Regions from separate parts of the Homo sapiens genome. Here region 1 is linked to region 2. The links are contacts of gene promoters, found by promoter capture Hi-C in blood cells and fetal thymus (Javierre and others, 2016). All regions are on one chromosome and are shown on one strand. The core of a region is centred on a gene start or on the middle of the fragment in contact, and the rest is flanking DNA. Distances in the headings are between cores, read along the strand shown. Region 1 overlaps DTL (denticleless E3 ubiquitin protein ligase adapter). Region 2 holds the start of GARIN4 (golgi associated RAB2 interactor family member 4).

Region 1 (6,603 bases), core at 507-3,006, 560 kb before region 2:
TTTTATAAAACACGCGGGATAGTAGCTAACATTTAGAATAAGAAGCACTCTGTATTTTGACTCTTGATTGTTATTCTTATTACAACTGTACTATATATTTTATATGGGTTTTAAAAAATTTACAGAGGGGTGATTCTATGAAGTTTTGGTTCAACATTAGCATCTCAAGCTCTTCATAATCCTTTTTCCTATTTGTTATTGAGCCATATATTTTTAAATGTTTGATCTCCAGTGACAGATACAGTACCTAGCACATAATAGATAGTCTACAAAATGTAAACTGAAATATATGTGTCATTGACTGGTTTTGTTAACCTCTTAATAATCTGTTTATTTCCCCACAGCTGTATTCTGTACGGGTGGAAGAGATGGCAACATTATGGTCTGGGATACCAGGTGCAACAAAAAAGGTTATCTAGATCTATTTTAATTTTGAGAGATTTGGGATTACCCTGTACTTAATTTTGAGTGAAAGAGTTAGTGATTTCATCTGATTACCACCAGGGGGCATGTACTCATAATTTCCCATTTCTGCTCACTGTTCCAGATCTCAGGATCTTCACTGAGTGTCCTGAGTGATAAATACATGAGTGTCACTGTTACAAGTATTACACTCATGTATTTATCTCATATTGTCTTCTGAATTATAATGCCATTTACCCACATTATTGATGGACTTAAAAATATTAATACGCAGCCTCACTGGTAAATGTCTTTATTTTGGTTTTTAAGAATTTTTTTTATTTTATTATTATTATTTTTTTTTTTTTTGAGATGGAGTCTCTGTCACCCAGGCTGGAGTGCAGTGGCGTGAACTTGGCTCACTGCACTCCCCACCCGCTGGGTTCCAGCAATTCCTCTAGCTCAGCCTCCTGAGTAGCTGGGATTACAGCCACCCGCCACCATGCCTGGCTAATTTTTGTATTTTTTTAATAGAAATGGGGTTTCACTATGTTGGCCAGGCTGGTCTCAAACTCCTGACCTCAAGTGATCTGCCCACCCTGGCCTCCCAAAGTGCTGAAATTACAGGCGTGAGTCACCAGGCCCAGCCTGATTTTAAAGAATTAGATTGAATTAAACATAAGCTCATGGTTGTCTCATGATGCTATTAAGCAGACGATGATTATCTCACTGTTCACTTTTAGTTAATTTATTAAAATTTTTTTTTGTGTCTGCATTTTAAAAAATTGGTAACATAGTTCTACATATTTTCAGGGGTATATGTGATATCTTGATACATATATAGAACATGAAATGATCAAATCAGGATAATTGGGATATCCATCACCTCAAACATTTATCTTTTCTTTGTGTTGGGAACATTACAATTCTTCTCTTCTGGTTTTTTGTTTCTTGTTTTTTTTTTTTTTGGAGACGGAGTCTCACTCTGTCACCCAGGCTGGAGTGCAGTGGCGTGATCTCATCTCGCTGCAACCTCCGCCTCCTGGGTTCAAGTAATTCTCCTACCTCAGCCTCTCAAGTAGCTGGGATTACAGGTGCATGCCACCACTCCCAGCTAGTTATGTATTTTTAGTACAGACAGGATTTCACCATGTTGGCCAGGCTGATCTGGAACTCCTGACCTCAGGCAATCTGCCTGCCTCAGCCTCCCATTCTTCTAGCTATTTTGAAATAAATAATAAAATTATTTAGAAAAATTTTAATAAACCTTATTTTGTAGAGCAGTTTTAGGTTCACAGCAAAACTGAGCAGAAAGTACAGAGAGTTCCCATATAGCCCCTGCCCTGCCCACACACAGACTTCCCCACTGACAACATCCTGTGCCTGAGTGGTACATTTGTTATAATCAGTTAACCTATGTCAACACATGCTGTCACTCAGAGTTTATAATTTACATCAGTGTTATATATTCTTAGTATTACACATTCTGTGGATATTGACAAATGTGTAATGACGTGCGTCCACCATTGTAGCATCATACACAATAGTTTCACTACTCTAGAAATCCTCTGTGCTCCAGTTATTCATCCCTACCTCCCTCTAAGCCCTGGCAACCACTGATCTTATTACTTCCCCCAGTCACATTTCCTCCATGTCATTTTATGGCTTTATCAAGCTCATTTCTTTCCAGTGCTGAATAATATTCCATTGTCTGGATGAACCAAAGTTTATCCATTCACCTACTGAAGGACATCTTGGTTGTTTCCAAGTTTTGGCAATTATTAAAGCTGTTATAAACATCTCTCCCTTTTTATACATTATAGTCTCACCACAGGAGATGTAGTGCAGCTGGCTCTGCTGGCTTCTAATTTCACCAACTTGGTCAAAAATTACTTAATATTGAAGTTTTATTTACACATGTTATATTCAGCATGTAAGAATCCTGAAACCTAAATTTCCTTGGAATATCTTTCAGATGGGTTTTATAGGCAAGTGAATCAAATCAGTGGAGCTCACAATACCTCAGACAAGCAAACCCCTTCAAAACCCAAGAAGAAACAGAATTCAAAAGGACTTGCTCCTTCTGTGGTAAGGTTTTACAGATGTATACATGTGTGCAGATCTTATCTGTAGGATAGAATAAATGGGAGGCTATTGATTAAGTGAATGAGAATCTTCATGATTCTCATTTGATATCAGTGGTTTATTGCTTATTCAGTACCTACATTTGTGGTTCTCAAATTTTAATTTTTGGTTCTTCTGAATTATAATGCCATTTACCTATATTATTGATGGAATTAAAATATATGTAGCCTCGTTGATAAATATCTTTAAATTTATTTTGGTTTTAAAGAATTAGATTGAATTAAACATAAGATGTTGTCTCATGCCATTAAGCAGAAAGTGGTTTTTTTTTTTACAATTTCAATATCTACATTTTAAAAAATTGATAACATAATTTTACATATTTTGGGGGGTACACTATGTATAATGATCAAATCAGGGTAATTGAGATAGCCATCACTTCAAATACTGTGTGCATCAGAGTTGCCTGAGGCACATGTTGAAAATTCACCTTACTCATCCCTAAAAATCTCTCTACACACACAGACACAAACACACACACACAAACACACCCCTATAGTATAGTGGAATTCATTAGGAAAAGTGGGGGAGGAGTAGTTTGAAGAAGCATATTAAGTACTGTGATGCAGTTTTCTAAGGGGAAAGAATACCTGTTGTTTTCGTAATACAAACTACAGAAAAATATGTTTTTTGTTTTGAGACAGAGTCTCGCTCTGTCACCCAGGCTGGAGTGCAGTGGCGCAATCTTGGCTCACTGCAAGCACCGCCTCCCAGGTTCACACCATTCTCCTGCCTCAGCCTCCCAAGTAGCTGGGACTACAGGTGCCCACCACCACGCCCAGCTAATTTTTTGTTTTTTTAGTAGAGACGGGGTTTCACCGTGTTAGCCAGGATAGCCTCAATCTCCTGACCTCGTGAGCCTCCCAAAGTGCTGGGATTACCGATGTGAGCCACCACGCCTGGCCAGCTTATTTTTAAGCATTTGACAAAATATTGTTAAATATATTGAGAAACACATGGGTAGAACATAGTACCACTCTAATAACTTACAGTCAGAGCTCAAACAATGCCCATAATATATCCTTTTTCTTTAAAAAATTGCCCTTTTTCTCACTTTAATGTAATTTTTTTTTCATATTCCTGGTGTGTAGGGTACAAGTTAATATTTTGGGGGAAGTATGACTGCTAAGACATTAAGACTTAAAACTATACACCGTGAACAGGACACAAGCATGAATGGAAGCAGATAGTAGAGGCCATATGAAGTTAAAACGAGTAGCATTTCAGACATTTAATCTGGTTCTGAGCCAAGATAACTTGTTAAGTAATAGCAATTAGGAGGTACGACTCCACTGGGCCTCTTTTTCAGGGCATGAAATAATCTTTTATTCATAATTCTTTTGATACTCCTATATGATAATCTAGGTAGACAGCAACATTTTAGAGATTAAACTGGCACAAGAAAGTTAAATAAGTTTCCTAAGGATACACACAGCATATTAGTAGGGCTGAGTCTAAGTAGATGCAGTAGGCTCAGACGAGCAAAATCTTTTAGTCACCAGTTTGTTTTTTGAGTATAAGTTGAAATATTAACACTGTATACTAAAACTTAATGATCCTTGCTAAAATTACCTCTTGGTCAGCATATATATCTGATCGAGATCATTAGACAAGACTTCATCTAAGTCAGTCTGGGGAGAAAAGTCGTTTTTTAGCACCTTGTTCCCTTGATGGTAAAGATTATGATGCCCAAGATAGAATCTTCTTCTTTTCTTGTGCTATCAGGATTTCCAGCAAAGTGTTACTGTGGTCCTCTTTCAAGACGAGAATACCTTAGTCTCAGCAGGAGCTGTGGATGGGTAAGAGTCTATTTCTTTTTTCTTCCGACGAGATCTTTTTTATGAGATTGTGATGAGGCAGTCACATAGTCTCATTATAATTGAATGTGTGTGCTTTCAACTGTCAACATAGCAAGTACCCCAACTGAGGAAAGGAGCTATAGATCACATTGGAAAATACCTAGTTGAAGGACTCTTGCTGGATAATTAAATGAAAGAATACATGTGTCACGCTTAGCACATTGTCTAGCACATAAGAGCAGTGGTAGCTGCTGTTGCTATCTTAGAAAAGAAGCTGGCTGGGTAGCTTGCTTGCCTTATGCAATATAATTTAGTCACTAATTCTCATTTTGAAGAGTAAAATTTCTGTTACTTTGGGTTTTGTCTTTTTCAGGTTTAAGAATATCCTAAAAGAAGAAATCTGATTCTGGGGATGTAATTGACATTTCTGGGAGTAATCTAACTAGATTGATGATAGTAAGGTCTAATGACTTTCACATACCTGTCATCCATGATTAGTCTGAATTCTTGGCTTCCAAATAAGTCTGCTCTGTGATGCTTGTTGATTGTGTTGTAGAATATTAATTCTATGCAAATGGAGACTCTTTCTTTTTAAGTTTCCTTCCTATTATATCTCTCAAGGCATCCTTCTCTTAAAATTTTTAATTTAAAAGATGATGGCTTACCAAACTAGGATTTCCATTGTGTCCTCTGGGCACTAAAACCCTCTGAACCAAATTCTCAGGCAGGAATGAAGGATTATCTAAAGGTTATTAGTTCTGCTTGTGAATGACTGTGAAAGCTTGCTCTGTTTGTTTCCAAGAATACTGTCATTTCATAGCAGGTCTGTGTTTTCAAGTTACCTTTATACTAGAAGTAGAGGATTAAGACAATTATCTCAATAGATGAAATGAAAAAATACTTTATTTCACAGAACAATTTGTTTAGATTATTTAAAGAGTTATGTATGGAGATATAACCACAGGGACAGAACTTGCTACTTATGATATCAAAAATATATGCAGAATATTAAAGGCTTAGGAAGTGTATTTTCTAAAAACAATGGAACAATTACTATCGGCACTCAACCTTCATCTTCCTTTTCCGTTCTCTTAGAGTAAACTCCAGTAACCCATCACTGGGTCAAATCACATCTGTTTCCGTTCTGTCAGAATTATAAGCCTGATATTGGAGACAACAGTATAAGATACTTTAATTTGTTTCCCAATGAAATATCCTTACTGTACCTAGTTAATGTGCCAGAGGAGTTAGATTAAAAGTCATTTCACATTTAGTGTAGTTGAAGTTGTTTGGGGTTGGAAGAAGGTCTACAAAATATTTATTTGCCTTGGTTTTTAGGATAATCAAAGTATGGGATTTACGTAAGAATTATACTGCTTATCGACAAGAACCCATAGCATCCAAGTCTTTCCTGTACCCAGGTAGCAGCACTCGAAAACTTGGTAAGCCTTTAATAGGTCTTTTGGGGGAGATAAGAGTTTTTGTTTAAAAAAAAAAAAAAAGGCTAATTTCCAGTAACATTGATATGAAAAATTCTAATATGTGAAGTTCAAAAGATAAAAACTCAGAAGAATGTTTTTGGTTTGTGTATATTTTGGGGACAAAGAATTCTGATGATGATTCTTATGAAATGATCTATTTTTGTCTCTACATTTTAACCTCAGATCTACTCACCATCATCAGGACGTGCTAACTTAAGTTTCCTTTTTCCAGGATATTCAAGTCTGATTTTGGATTCCACTGGCTCTACTTTATTTGCTAATTGCACAGACGATAACATCTACATGTTTAATATGACTGGGTTGAAGACTTCTCCAGGTAAGATATTAGTCATTCAAATTCTCTTACCAGGAAAGCATTATGGGCTTTTTTTGGTAATGATAATTTAATGGGCTTTCTTCTAAACTGAACTTATTAAGCCATATGAGGACTTTGGCATCTTTGATTACATCCAGTGATAATTTCATAAGTGTACATTCCTTGTGATGATTTCATAAGTTAGCTGAATTGTGCTTTACATGGTGACTTTATTTTAATAGAGAGTATCTCCTGAAATTATGCCCTTTGGCCTATATTTAGAATTCTCTCAATTTTTTATTTAATAAGCTGTGGAGTAGATAAAGTGCTTCTGCTCAGCTTTTTTCCTCTTTAGGGGCTGCTGGTTAAAATTAGGGGGCTGAAATTTTCATACCCCCAAAATAGTTTCAGCCTATCTCAGCCTTCTCCTTAATGTTAGAGGCCCTTTTATTTCTAGATG
Region 2 (7,361 bases), core at 4,656-7,155:
AAAGGAAGCTGCCAGCTCTCATTTGGCTCACTATGAAAAGCCTTTAATTAATCTCTTCAAACAAGTTATTTCCTTAATCCACAAGCAGTGGTTACACTTGCTTTGCATTCTTGTCTGGTTCCTAACTCTAGAGCCCTTCTCCCTGGCTTAGCCAGTAAGCTGAGCCCCTGGCTGCGTTCAGCCGGCCCGCCTGAGAGACACTAGGGGAAATAGCTTTTGTGGGCAAGCAGGGTGGCCGGTGGTGCTCAGCAGTCTTTCCAGTGGCTGTGTCCCTCCTCCAAATGTGGACAGGCCATGACAGAGTCTTAGCCCAAGTCCCACAGATCCCCAAAAGTTCTGTTGATTGCTTCAGGGGATCAGTGAAAATTAGGGAATTTTGTGTGTTGCTATATACATTTTTTCTGGGGAGATGAGCTTCTCATTGAGATCTGTGACTCAGAATCGACTAAGCCACCATAAGTCTGGATTTCTCCCCAGCTCCCAAGGCCCTTTTGGGTCCAGAAGACCTGCATATGGGCTGTTGACTCATGCAAATGAGGTATCTGAACTGCAGCTTCAGTATTAGCAGAGCCACAGGCCGCCTCTGTGGCATCACCAGGGTTTCTCTGAAGAAGAGGGTCTGCATTTTCCTAAACCCAGTGCTGCTCTCCCATCTCCCATCTTCCTCTCGCAGCTTGATGAGCCCCGGTGTGTCCCAGGTACACCCCTGCATCCAGGCAGCAGCCCAGGCCACCCCCTCCTCACTGGCCCTTGGCTCCTTTCTTGATGCCTCTGTTGCTTGTCCCCCAGGAGTCGGAGAAGCTGGAAAGTGTGAATGCTGAACTGAAGGCTCAGATTGAGGAGCTCAAGAACGAGAAGCAGCATTTGATATACATGCTCAACCTTCATCGGCCCACGTGTATTGTCCGGGCTCAGAATGGGAGGACTCCAGAAGATGAGAGAAACCTCTTTATCCAACAGATAAAAGAAGGAACATTGCAGAGCTAAGCAGTCGTGGTATGGGGGCGACTGGGGAGTCCTCATTGAATCCTCATTTTATACCCAAAACCCTGAAGCCATTGGAGAGCTGTCTTCCTGTGTACCTCTAGAATCCCAGCAGCAGAGAACCATCAAGGCGGGAGGGCCTGCAGTGATTCAGCAGGCCCTTCCCATTCTGCCCCAGAGTGGGTCTTGGACCAGGGCAAGTGCATCTTTGCCTCAACTCCAGGATTTAGGCCTTAACACACTGGCCATTCTTATGTTCCAGATGGCCCCCAGCTGGTGTCCTGCCCGCCTTTCATCTGGATTCTACAAAAAACCAGGATGCCCACCGTTAGGATTCAGGCAGCAGTGTCTGTACCTCGGGTGGGAGGGATGGGGCCATCTCCTTCACCGTGGCTACCATTGTCACTCGTAGGGGATGTGGAGTGAGAACAGCATTTAGTGAAGTTGTGCAACGGCCAGGGTTGTGCTTTCTAGCAAATATGCTGTTATGTCCAGAAATTGTGTGTGCAAGAAAACTAGGCAATGTACTCTTCCGATGTTTGTGTCACACAACACTGATGTGACTTTTATATGCTTTTTCTCAGATCTGGTTTCTAAGAGTTTTGGGGGGCGGGGCTGTCACCACGTGCAGTATCTCAAGATATTCAGGTGGCCAGAAGAGCTTGTCAGCAAGAGGAGGACAGAATTCTCCCAGCGTTAACACAAAATCCATGGGCAGTATGATGGCAGGTCCTCTGTTGCAAACTCAGTTCCAAAGTCACAGGAAGAAAGCAGAAAGTTCAACTTCCAAAGGGTTAGGACTCTCCACTCAATGTCTTAGGTCAGGAGTTGTGTCTAGGCTGGAAGAGCCAAAGAATATTCCATTTTCCTTTCCTTGTGGTTGAAAACCACAGTCAGTGGAGAGATGTTTGGAAACCACAGTCAGTGGAGCCTGGGTGGTACCCAGGCTTTAGCATTATTGGATGTCAATAGCATTGTTTTTGTCATGTAGCTGTTTTAAGAAATCTGGCCCAGGGTGTTTGCAGCTGTGAGAAGTCACTCACACTGGCCACAAGGACGCTGGCTACTGTCTATTAAAATTCTGATGTTTCTGTGAAATTCTCAGAGTGTTTAATTGTACTCAATGGTATCATTACAATTTTCTGTAAGAGAAAATATTACTTATTTATCCTAGTATTCCTAACCTGTCAGAATAATAAATATTGGAACCAAGACATGGTAAACATGTGTTGTGCTGGTTTCTGTTCATTTAAATCTGTCGGTTGCTGAGACCTAGCGATTCCCTGCCTTTCCCTCCCCATTATGGGGGGTGCCTAGCTTTAAACTTCTCCAGATGTCATCCTTTGCTCTTTGGGGCATCACTAGATGGGATAGTTGGCTTTCAGTCCTGTTCCTCAGTCTTGGGCACCTGATGCTCAATTTTTCATTGACAAACCCTGAAACATGGCACCAAATATATCCTTTAGATCAACAGTTTGGTGTTTAGAATTTTGATGTACAACTGAATTGCTAGATACCTTAATTATTTTCTCTGAATGTACAAACACCTAAAACATACACCTGTTGTTCAGCTTGAACCTTTGACCCCTAACATTCTGCCACAGAACTCGTCTCAGAGAGTTACTCACTTGAGTTACATCTGTTTCATGTCTAAACGTGTGTCTCATTGTTGCAAATACATATCAGAAAAGAATGGGAAGGGGTACCGGAGGAAGAAAGAACCATTTTAGACAGCATGGGTGTGATAATTCAAAGAAAGACATTCCACTGAATTTCCTGGAATTTCCAGGGCGTATGATTCCTTTGGCCTGCAAGAGAGCCAGGCCCCCTTGCTTTTTGTGCTTCTCTATAACATTCACAGGCTAGACATAAAAACTGGCCACTCGCCGCTGGTGCCATTCTTCAGAGAAGAATGTCTTCGTTAAATGTCAGATTCGTACACATGAATTCTGTGCCTACTTCTTTGACCTCATGTATGTTTCCTTTAAATGATCACTTAAGACACAGGTGTCTTCATTTTACTCTCTGAATTGCACATCAGGGGTCTTTCCTAATCCATCAAGAGCCATCTGATGTTAATACCATTCAGCACTTCTTTCAGGGGATAATTTATGTTCCTTTTCTTGGTGGAGGGGAAAACATCCCTTGCATTTACCTTCTAGTTATGGGTAGAGGCACCAGCCACCAGCCATTATGAAACGCAAGACAATTTGTAAGCTGCCAGGAACAACAATGGATTAGAGAGGAAGGAAGTTGGGGGCGGATGGTGGCTATGGCAAGAAAACTTGATGTGTATGGTAAGTGTAAATGAAGGTCTATCACAAATGCATTAAAAATTGTTTTATGTAGCCAAGTTTATGTTTTGATACTTTAATTTTAAAAAGGATGATGACTATGCATTTACCATCAAGGCATTTAGTTTCTTTTGTTTCACATTTAGAGGAAAGGGAAGGTGGGGGGATCTGAGAGAATAAACTTAGATGGGGCCACCACCAATATCAAGCACCCGGTTTGGCAGTGTCTGCACTGAGCTGTCTCCTGTTGGTAGTGGTGATGTCACACTGCCAGGGTGTGGAAAGCCACCCTCCCTCCTCTCTCTTGCCTTCCACCTGCCCCTTTGGCTTTCCCTGAGAGCTGGCCTGACACCTGTTTCAGAGTCAAGAGCTTTTAAAGGGTTCTGGCCCAGGACAGGAGTTCTGGAATGGAATCTTTCCACTTTCTGTTAACTAAAATACTATTTTCCATCTGTATCCTAATTTCTCCCCATGGGCTTTGAATAAACCCTCAACACTCCAACCCATATCAAGCTTTCTCCTCTCTTCCCTGTCCCGTAACCTCTGGTTGGGTTCATGTACTGTTTCTTTGTGGCGTGAACAGCGTTTCCAATTAGAATCTGCCTGAAAGGAGGTCCCATTTGCCCACTGAGCATCCTGTGTTCTCATGGTGGCTCTAACTCCAGAAGATTTTAACACAGTCTCATCAAACACTGCTTTCAGGGAGGAATTTACACTGAGGTTAAAAGGACTGTTGAGGACTAATGCTAACAGAAGCTAACATTTATTGCGTAGGACAATACACTAAACACTTCACATGTATTATCCCATTTAATCCTCACAACAACTGCTACCCCCATTTTACAGATGAGGGAGTGGAGAGCTCAGTAACTTGCTCGAGGTCTCACAGTGGATCTTTCCAAAGCTGAAGCCTATGCTTGTTTTCAACAGCAATGATTTCAAACAAGAGTATATACATTTGTGTGTGTGTGCGTGGTAAGATATACAAAAAATTTGCCATTGTAACTATTTTGAAGTGTACAATTCAGTGCCATTAAGTACATTCACAATGCAGTGTAACCATTACTATCTAGTTCCAGAACTTTTTCACTGTCCCCAAAGGAAATCCTGTACCCATTAAGGAGTCACTCTTCATTCCCCTTCCTTCCAGTCTCTGGCAACCACTAATCTGTCTTCTGTTTCTATGGACTTGCCTGCGCTGGATATTTTATGTAAATAGCATCATACAATATGTGGCCTTTCGCACAATACGGCTGGCTTCTTTCACTTAGCATAATGTTTTCAAGTGTCAGCCTAGCGTATTATGTAATAGTACCTTATTTCTCTTTATGGCTGAATAGTATTCTGTTGTATGGATACTATACTTTTTGTTTATCCATTCATCAGTTGATAGACAGGTGTGTGTATGTTAAGAAACAGCTAGCCTTTATCTTCAAGAACTGAATCTCTAAGGTAGGATTTCAGGCCTGATGTCAAGCTGGGAGAAAAGAGAGTTGGAAGCAGGTGCTCCTTTTCAGGACTTCCAGGTAACAGCTTGGAAATTACTTATTCCTGGGCTCGCTCTGTGGGCATGGCAAGGCAGGAGGTATAGTAGCACCTGTTCCCCATGGATGTAAATGGCTTCCAAAGTACTTCTGCATAGTAGAGAGGTTAGTAGAGGAGGGCCTTTGATAGGCTCCTGGAATGTAAGCTCACACTTTCCATCCTACCCTCTTCTCCCGGCATTTCACAGGGTAGGGGGTAAGAAGAGGCACGGGGCAAACACTGGGGGCCTTGAGAAAATATTTGGGCTCCCTGACACAGGATGTTGGTATAAACATGATGGAGGAGAAATAGAGGTGGCCCCTTGGATAATTTAATCCCCCACTCAGCCCAGCCCCTTTCTGAAGTGGTTGTCCTGGATTCTCCATAACATGCATGCATACACACACACACACACACACACACACACAGAATTAATTATGCAACTTATTTGGCTTGCCCAAGCTTTTTTTGTAAGTTCTGTAGTGGTTCAGAAGGAAGATTTTAAAAGCAGCAAGACCTGTATTCAAATAATACCTCCACTGCCTACGAGTTCTACAAATGCAGGTATGTTTCACAACTTCAGGTTTTTTTTACCTGTAAGATGAGAAGCGTTGCAATAGTATCAAACTGGAATGGAGTTTGATACATAGTATGGCGCCTAGAAGAAGCAATCTCTCATGTTATTATTAAAGGTTGAGGTTATTACTAAAGATTTCCATTGTCAGCATGAACTGAGATTTTATGGAAGAGTGGGCTAAGAACCAAGACTGCGAATTCTAGGTTAAAAAAAAATTTAAACCGTGTACTCAAATGGTTCAAATTTATCCCATCATCTTGCGTTCCTGTAGACTCTGCCTAGTTGCTGAATCTTTTGAATTTGGGGTGAGGAAGGGGAAGCAACCACACATTTTCTCATTTGAAAAATTTTTATTTTGGCACCCACTTGAGTACCTGGCACGGTGGGGCTGTCCTCTATGGGGGCAATGGAGTATTAGTGAGGGCATTGTGGCCCTGGCCTGGGGGATGAGAACAAAGGGGTATGTGACAGCAACAGGTCACAAAGGGAAGCAGAAGATAAATATGGCTGCACAGGGGGTTTAGGCAGAGAGGGTCGTCACTTCCTGTCACTAGGACTACAGTTTGTAGTCTCTCTCAGGGAGAGAGACTACAAACTGTAATTAAAAAAATCAGAGGTGGAGGTCAGGGGGTTAGGTCCAGAAGAAAACCTCTCTGGAGCCCACCCTGCATCTCTACGTCTTGGAAGAGTCTGGAGTCCAGGCACCCTACAGCACCCCCCACAGCAATCATCCGTGCTCCCACCCCCACCCCGGCCTCTGGGAGGCTCTGAGGCAACAGTGGGGGCCTGTGGGGTGGGGTGGGATTGAGAGACCAGCTGCAGAGACATCTTTGTGACCCAGGAGCACCACTGGTCCCTCATCTGCCACCGAGGCCAAGGAAGACCCAGAGACCTGCCTCACCAGTGCTGCCGTTGTGCTGAAAGACAACCATGAATGCTGATTTTCTGCTGCCGTATTATACGGCCCAGAGTGGCTCCAGCATGAGCATGTTCAACACCACCATGGGGAAACTGCAGCGACAACTGTACAAGGGGGAGTACGATATATTCAAGTATGCACCGATATTTGAGAGCGACTTTATCCAGATCACCAAAAGGGGAGAAGTGATTGATGTGCACAACCGTGTCCGTATGGTGACCATGGGCATTGCACGTACCAGCCCCATCCTCCCACTCCCAGATGTCATGCTACTGGCACGACCGGCCACCGGCTGCGAAGAGTATGCTGGACATGGCCAGGCCACCAAGAGAAAAAAACGCAAGGCAGCAAAGAACTTAGAGCTCACCAGGCTTCTGCCCCTGAGGTTTGTACGGATCTCTGTTCAAGACCATGAGAAACAACAGCTGCGCCTGAAGTTCGCCACTGGCAGATCTTGCTATCTGCAATTGTGTCCCGCTCTTGACACACGGGATGACCTCTTTGCCTATTGGGAAAAACTAATTTACCTCTTGCGGCCACCCATGGAGAGTAACAGCAGTACCTGTGGCATTCCAGCTGAAGACATGATGTGGATGCCTGTGTTTCAGGAAGACAGGAGGAGCCTGGGAGCCGTGAACCTTCAAGGAAAGGGGGATCAGGACCAGGTCAGCATCCAAAGCCTCCACATGGTCTCTGAGGTGTGTGGGGCCACCTCTGCTGCTTATGCTGGAGGGGAGGGACTCCAAAATGACTTTAACAAACCCACTAATGTGCTCAATGCATCCATCCCCAAAACATCTACAGAACTTGCTGAGGAGCCAGCAACAGGGGGGATTAAAGAGGCAGCAGCAGCAGGGGCAGCTGCAGGGGCAGCAACAGGCACCGTAGCAGGTGCCTTGAGTGTGGCAGCAGCCAATTCTGCCCCTGGACAGGTGAGCGCAGCCATAGCTGGGGCGGCCACCATCGGTGCAGGAGGAAACAAAGGCAACATGGCCCTTGCAGGCACTGCCAGCATGGCTCCAAACAGCACGAAGGTGGCTGTGGCAGGGGCTGCAGGCAAGTC

What was found. The method cuts DNA at HindIII sites, captures the fragments that hold promoters and counts their contacts. A CHiCAGO score of 5 or more calls a contact.
Region 1: a fragment that was not itself captured here is called in contact with the fragment with the promoter of GARIN4 in region 2 in 1 of 17 cell types (M2 macrophages); the score reaches 6.2 in M2 macrophages.

Annotation. Positions count from the first base shown.
Region 1 is chr1:212,062,540-212,069,142 of GRCh38, forward strand. DTL (denticleless E3 ubiquitin protein ligase adapter) reads left to right here. Exons shown (of 15, transcript NM_016448.4): 6 at 345-410; 7 at 2,378-2,490; 8 at 4,273-4,346; 9 at 5,685-5,788; 10 at 6,060-6,164. Among named protein-coding and RNA genes, the nearest start is that of MIR3122, 12 kb to the right of the region's middle. The HindIII fragment of the contact is 6,737 bases long and covers 1-5,125 here.
Region 2 is chr1:212,618,569-212,625,929 of GRCh38, forward strand. GARIN4 (golgi associated RAB2 interactor family member 4) reads left to right here and starts at 5,906. Exons shown (of 1, transcript NM_153606.4): 1 at 5,906-7,361. The coding sequence starts at 6,310. ATF3 (activating transcription factor 3) reads left to right here. Exons shown (of 4, transcript NM_001674.4): 4 at 790-2,207. The coding sequence ends at 987. RefSeq lists a silencer at 3,059-3,353 and an enhancer at 7,337-7,361. The HindIII fragment of the contact is 9,349 bases long and covers 5,263-7,361 here.